2 separate regions of the Homo sapiens genome follow, and region 2 is linked to region 1. Evidence: promoter capture Hi-C in human tissues and cell types (Jung and others, 2019). All regions are on one chromosome and are shown on one strand. The core of a region is centred on a gene start or on the middle of the fragment in contact, and the rest is flanking DNA. Distances in the headings are between cores, read along the strand shown. Region 1 holds the start of RASD2 (RASD family member 2). Region 2 overlaps RBFOX2 (RNA binding fox-1 homolog 2).

The links. The method cuts DNA at HindIII sites, captures the fragments that hold promoters and counts their contacts. A contact is called where the count stands out against the background at its distance.
Region 2: a contact is called between a fragment that was not itself captured here and the fragment with the promoter of RASD2 in region 1, in 1 of the 25 tissues and cell types used here (bladder).

What each region holds. Positions count from the first base shown.
Region 1 is chr22:35,539,036-35,542,740 of GRCh38, reverse strand. It overlaps RASD2 (RASD family member 2), which reads right to left and starts at 1,910. Exons shown (of 3, transcript NM_014310.4): 1 at 1,241-1,910. RefSeq lists enhancers at 1,560-2,122, 2,123-2,685, 2,686-3,248 and a silencer at 2,219-2,438. The HindIII fragment of the contact is 17,894 bases long and covers 1-3,705 here.
Region 2 is chr22:35,990,595-35,993,999 of GRCh38, reverse strand. The region is part of intron 1 of RBFOX2 (RNA binding fox-1 homolog 2); the gene reads left to right. Among named protein-coding and RNA genes, the nearest start is that of RBFOX2, 37 kb to the left of the region's middle. The HindIII fragment of the contact is 4,413 bases long and covers 1-3,405 here.

The DNA of each region.
Region 1 (3,705 bases), core at 661-3,160:
GACAAGAGTCTGGACGTGTCCTCCCGGTGTATGCCCCAGAGCCTGTTTCACTGCACTGCCCCTCCTCCACACCCCCATGCCTCCTCCATCAGTGCACACTCAGCCTCTTTGGACACGCACATTGCCATCACTGGCTTCCAGCTGCCACTCTGAGAGTCCGGGAGCTTGGCAAAGCCAACCCCACCACCCTTGGCAGCTCAGGTGGTAGAAGGTAGGCAGGCATCCACTTCTGGCAGGCCAACTCTGCCTCTCACCAGCCCGGCAGCCCTGGGCAAATGACTTGGCTTCCTGGGGCTCAGGTTATTCCTCTGTTAATGGTAAGACATAAACCCCCTGTGTGGCCCTGGGTTTCCAATAAGTCTGGAGGCTGACCCAGCTCTTGACCCGCAGCAAACCTGAACACATGCTGGGTTCTTTTCTTCGTGGCACTTTATCTTGGCAGTCGTGGGGCTGCCTAGAGCAGCCTGGTGAGGCTGGACTGGAATGCAGGCGCAGGTCTTGCAGGGACCCCATCTTGTCTCTGACACCACAGGAGGCTTGATTCACTGGCTCCTGACCTGGCTGCTCCCTCCCAGCCTGGCTTCCCACCTTCCATGAGGTCTTGGACAACATCCCCTGTCATCCTCCTGGTGCTGGGGACAAGGGGAGGGGAGGGCACAGAGAGGCCTCCAGAGCTGCCTTCCGGGCCCTCCAAGACAGCTAAGTTACAGGAAACCCCTCCTGGGAAGGGAATCATCCAGGAAACTCACTCTGCACCAACCCAGAAAAAGCTCAAGAACTCTGGATAACGAAGGAGCTTCTTAATCTTCCTTCCCCACCTCCAGGTAATGCAGGCTGCAGCCAGCTCCAGAAGAGGGACAGGAGTGTTTGTGGTAGTTGACTCGTCTTCCCTGAGCCCCCGTTTCCTCCTATTTAAATGGGCTATTACTCTAGCTCTTTAAATGCAAAGCCTGTGGCACCAAAACTAGCACATAGTAGAAGCTCAATAAATCTTTCTTTCCTGGGATTAAGTCAAGGGTATAGCACTCAGTTTGACACATACAGTAGGTGCTCAACGAATTTAATTCTCTCTAGGTATGCAAAGTTGCCAGACGATCCCGGCACATAGTAGGTGCTCAATCAATTTCACTTTCTCTGGTCATCTAAGGAATCACTGAGCTTTCCTCCTCCAAGCCTCTACCCTTTCTTCCCGGCTGCTCCACTTCCCCCAGATGCCCAGCTCTGTTGGGGCGTCTCCTACCTGGGAATGGCGGGCCGGGCCTCTGGCACGGCTCAGAGAGCTGCCTGGAAGCGCCGGGAGCTGCGGGGAGCTGCCTGCTGCTCCAGCCGCCGAGCCTCCCAGAGTCTGTGGTGGCTCCCGGGTCACTGCGCGGGGATCCTCCCCTGCGCTGCTCGGGACGCCGGGCTGGGCGCGGCCGGGCAAGGAGGCGCAAGGGGCAGGTGCCCCATGGGTGGGCTCCGAGGGCTCGGCGGGGCCCGGGCAGGGGGCGGGCTCCGGCTCGCCGCCGCCGGCCCTGCCCTGCCCCGAGCCGGGGGCCTCCTGCTGAGCCAGGTGCCCGGAGGCTTGGGGACGTCCGATCCGGGGGTCCCCGCCTGGGGCTCTCGGGCTGGGGGCAGAGAGGTAGGGGCGACTCCAGTGATGAAGGAGCAGCTCCTAGAGACTTGGGGAGGGGGGGTCCTTTGGAGGTGACTGTGGGTGCGTGTCCCAGGTGGGCGAACCCTCCTGGTCGCCTATGCCACCTTCTCCGCCTGCCCCAAAGGGGGTCGCTCGGATGGGGGGTATCGGGCTGCCGGGCTCGGCCGCGGCCTCCTTCTCTGCCCGCGGCTCTGCAGCTCTCCCAGCGCCGGAGGGACGGCTTCTTTCTCCCCGCGCGGCGACGCCAGCAGCTGAAGGAGGAGCAGGGCGCTCTGCTCTGCGCGCGTGTGGGAGGGGGCCTTGAACGCCGCCCCAAGGTTTCGCAGCTCCAAGTTAGCATCAACCCGGCTCCTCCTCCTTCACCTCCTCCTGTCCCCAGATGAGGAGAACTTTGTGTGTGGCCCTGGGTTCTCCCTCCTTCCCCCTCTCGCAGGCAGATGCCCCACTGTCACCCGCAGGGCGAAGAGGTCGCTGATCCCTCCGAAAGGTGGCAGAACCCCAGGCTCCTGATGACGGTCCCAGCGGCACCCTCCCGCGCCCCTGCGAGCGTCGCCCACCTGCTCCTTCGGCCCCCCGCGAGCCGCGCCTCCCGCCGCCCAGCGCCAGCGTCTGCCCCCCAGAGCCCGCTCGCCCCGCCCCACCCCGGCGCCCCGCCTCGCCCCGGCGCCCGGCCAATGGGAGGCGGGTCCCGCGGCCCGGCCCCGCCCATCCCTTTCGCGGCCTCCGGGGCGCCGCGGTCTGCGGTTCCGCGTGTCCGGGCGCGTGGGGCCGGGGCCGCTGGGCGCGCGCACCTTGCCCAGAAGGCGGCCCGGGCCTCGGAGGCTGACGTCTGCGCACGCGCTCACACGCACGCCCGGCCTGGCCGCAGGTGACCCGCATGGGGTCCGGCCGCCTGCCCACTCGGCCGGGGTCTCCAGCGGCTTGCGCCCGGCCAGGTCGAGCGCGCCACGGTTCCAGCGCCCTCCTCCTTCGCGGAAGTCCCCGGGTGCCCTCCCAGGTGTCCAACCTGCCTGTCCCAGCCGCCGCCTCCCTCCCGAGCTCACGGTGCCCACGGGACCCTGCGGACTGGCACATGGGCCATGCACGTGTCGCCCAGAGGGGCGGGGAGTCACCTAGGCTTAGTAGCCAGAGGTCTTCGAGGCATGCGAGTCTCAGAGACCACGGCCGACGGGGACACACCAGGTGCCTTGAGCATTGCGTCTCCTGCCTGCATTCTCCCTCCCCACCTTTAAATGAGGGGCTTGACCTAGGCCAGACATCGGGCCTTCTCACTGGGCCATATCTCCACACCACTTATTACTTAATATATTTTTTAAAATATCAGATCCACTTTCCCCACCCCTTAAACACGTTTTTTTAGAGAATCATTATATCACTGCCTTAAATGGGAAATCAGTATCACTTGCCATAAATAGAAAGTAAGAGTTAAAATAAGCACAGTGAAAACAAAGCAAGGTTATTAAATTCCAGCTGGAAACCGTGGCCTGCCAAGGCTTGAGATGTGTGCCCTCAGTGAAAAAGGGAGATTGGCAAGGTTTGGAGAGGTGTTAAATACCCATTAGCACCTAACAGAGACTTTCTCCTTCACATATCAGGAGGCTTAAAAGAGAATGTTCTCGTTGTGTGATACAGCAAAGGGATGGGATGCTGTGTCTGTGTCCCTCAGTTCCAGATCCCTGGACCTCAGGGATGTCTGCCAGCCTCACCCCCAACCCAGATCTGGCCTCCCTACCTCATGAGAGGACGCAGGGGTCTGGGAGGGCACCTGAGGGGTCAGCTCCATTGGCTGAGAGACTGGCGTTCAAGTCCTGTCTCCGTAACTACCTAGATATCTGACCCTGGGCCGTCATGAAAAGTCTCTGGGTCCTGGTTGTGCCATCTCTAAAATGGGTATGATATTGATGGGTCCACAGAATGACAGAAGTACTAAAATGGCCTGGGACTTTGAATATGGAAAGTGACTTGCTTTGCTTGTCTCTGTAACATCTTGAGATTCTCCAGGAAAGTTAACCAGAGAGGATGGGGCAGGTGGGGGTGGAGGGTGCAGTACCTGTACTACCTGATTGTGT
Region 2 (3,405 bases), core at 136-2,635, 450 kb before region 1:
GTTTTTTTGTTTTTCGAGACAGTCTCGTTCTGTCTCCCAGGCTGGAGTGCAGTGGCGCAATCTTGGCTCCCTGCAACCTTTGCCTCCTGGGTTCAGGTGATTCTCCTGCCTCAGCCTCCTGAGTAACTGGGATTACGGGTGCCTGCCACAGCACCTGGCTAAATTTTGTATTTTTAGTAGAGAAGGGGTTTTACCATGTTGGCCAGGCTGGTCTTAAACTCCTGACCTTAAGTGATCTATCTGCCTCGACCTCCCATAATGGCAGTTTGGGATTCATAACACAGTGCACTACAACATACCCTCCCTATTAGTTATTTCTCGCTGTGTAACAAATTAGCCCTACACTTACTGGCTTCAAACAACAAACACTTATTATCTCATAGTTTCTGTAGGTCAGAAATTTGAGACAACTTAGCTGTGTAGTTCTGTCCCAGGATCTCTCATGAGGTTTCAGTCAAGCTTTTGACTGGGCTGCATTTATCTGAAGGCTTGACTGAGGCAGGAGGATCTACTTAAATTTTTGCTTTATGCTGTTAGAAGCAAGTCTAGCTCCTCTTAAGGGGAGGAAAAGCAGGACCTACCTTTTGAATGGAGTAGTATCAAATACTTTGTGAGCATATTTTAAAACCATTACATCCACCTTTATTTTCTGCTATTTTCCCCTGTTAACATACCTGTGTTTTAATAACTGCCTCTGATGATGGTCAGAGTCCAGTGGCTAAAGTTCATTTTACCCTCAGCTGCTATTTCAGTATTACTTGGAACAATTCGATTCATTTTGATGATGCAAACTCTGACCTGTAATCAAAATGGTCCTTTTGAGGCGCAAAGGTGAATTTAGCTTTGCTTGGGCTTTTAACACTTGTATATGCATCTGTTTATGTCCTTTCTGTCTTATGTGTTCCTTAGTTGATTCTTAGTAGTGGAATAAAGCTGTTTGGACATTACATGGTAAATATGTTAAAACCAGTATTGTATTATGTTTTTGTATGTTATGTTTTGCTTGAGATTCAGAGCACTTAATAACCATTCTGTATCTCATCCTACCTCTGAGAAGTTTGAAAGTAAAGCAAGGTATCCTGTTTTCTGCCTCCAAGTAGGGAAAGGGAGGGGAGTTCATTTACATACGAGGCTGAGTGGAAGATGTGAGGGAATTCAGAGTTGTAAGGCAGAGACATAGATGTTTCCAGGAGTGGGTTCATCCTTACTAACCTTCATCTTGTAGCTGTTTTGTTTTTGGCTTAGCTTCGAACTTCTGAAGTTTATACTGAAGCAAGAGGCAAGACGTATTGGATAAATGACCCAGGAGACATAATCAGTAAAGGTAAATTTCCATCTGCTTTGGGTCAAAATGGAGCTTTTTTATAAGGAAACTAGGTATCATAATGGGAAGTGGTTGGGTTATGAGAGGGTTCAAGAATCAAGAGAATAAGTATTCAGTTAAAACCATTTGATTTCATTTTTTTTCTGGTGTTTTAGTAAGCTTTAATCAGGTATTTCCTAAGGAATTTAAAATTATCTCTTAAGTTTGAGAAGTCTGCCGGGCTAGATGAATGGATTGTTAGTTTGTTGCCTTGGACAGAGACTTAAAGAACTCTTGAATCTACATTCTGTTATCTTCTGTATCCTTGTCATCTTTGTCATTAGTTGAATACTTAAACATAGTTTCGAATTGTTACTTGTGTGTGTGTGTATGTGTATGTGTGTGTGTGGTTATCTGTTGTCTCTCTAAGCAGAGTTAATTTTCTTGAGGACCATGCCTTTTATTTCTTTGCGTTCCCTCTGCTAGTAATGATACTTTGAGTTGTATATTTCAGAGGATATATCTTAAGCATATTGGCAACATCCGCTGGTGTGGCAAGGTAAGAGTCAAGTGGAGCTCAGTGGTTAAGAGTTTGGGGTTTAGAGTCCTATTGACTTTGCTGTTTAATAGATTTATTACCTTAGGCAAGTTTCTCAATTTCTCTGAGGCTCAGTTCCTTCATCTGTAAAATGTTAATAATAGTTTCTACCTCACAGAGTTGTGAGAACTAATGAGATATTGCAAGTAAAGCACTTAGCCACAGGAGTGGTTACATATATTAGGTGTGTAAAAAAGTAATTGTTTGATTTGTTAATTTTTATTTTTGATTAGAGGTATCCAAGTTCTTGAATCTTGAGGCCTCATTTTTATTAGTTCATCAGTCATTATCGGAGGTGCCAGAAACCTGAATCTGGTGCCCGTTCTTGTCAGCCTGAGTCGGTCCACATCATAAGTAACTTCATTCAGAGAGTTTTCTTGTTTGCTTTGGCAAAATAGATATTTTAGGCCGTGGTTTCTTCCTTGCAGAATCTCAGGGTTCTTCCTCTCTCCAGTGACCAGAGCTGCCATTGTTTTCAATGTTTGGTAGGTGACATGGTATTTGGATTACCCTGTTCTCCTCTGCTCTTCTGACTGTGACTCCTAAAAGCTCACTTAAACCTGGCTGATGCTGACTCCTGTCCAAAGGCCCAAGTCCTCCTGCCTCCCTCCAATTTTCTGTTAAGGAATTCTTTGGACTAATTTTTTTTATCTTTTAAAGAAACCTTGCAATACCCAAACAGACCATTCTTTCAACTCTGCACTCCTTGGTCAGCATCCAGAATGTAAATACTTGTGGCCATCTGTATATTCCTCTGTTGTCAGGCCTAACTGACTTTATACTTTTTCTCTTCCATTCCGATCTTCCGGTGGCTCCTCATAGACTGTCCCATTTTTTCCTGTTGCACAGTGAGCAAACTTCCTTCATCTTCAGCCTCTTAACTGCATGTTATTTTTACTCCTTTCTCTTAACTAAATTTGTTTTCTTTCTCAGGACTTTACATCCTCTATCTCCCTTCTAGTGGGTGGGTTTTTTGTTTTTTGTTTTTGTAATTTTTAAAATTTAGAGATGGGGTCTCTCTGTGTTGCCCAGGCTGGTCTCAAACTCCCAAGCTCAAGTGATCCCCCTGCCTCAGCCTCCCAAGCAGCTGGGACTACAGGTGTGCAACACCATGCTTGGCTTAGTGGGTGTTTCGGTGTTCCTTGTTCTCCTGTATTACAGAGATTAGTATTCTGTTGTTCTCTCTCTCCCCTCTCCAATGCTTACATAAAATCCTATACCCTTGGGTGAAATTCCCTGTTCCTTAAAAGCTCGTGTAATCTGGCTAGTCTAACCTTTTCCCTTATGCAGTACTGTCATTTATTGTTTTGTCCCTCCCTCATTTAAAAAATGAACAAAAACTTGTAGCTCTTGGATTGTGGGCTTTCTTCTTACCTTAAGTATTGCTATTGTCTTAAGAGACTCCAGTGTCTGTGTGGAAGACTGATCCAGCACCTTAGCTAGTCTTATGTCTGGTTCTCTAATTAATCTGTTTCATTGCCTTTCTTCTCTTTCACCAACTATT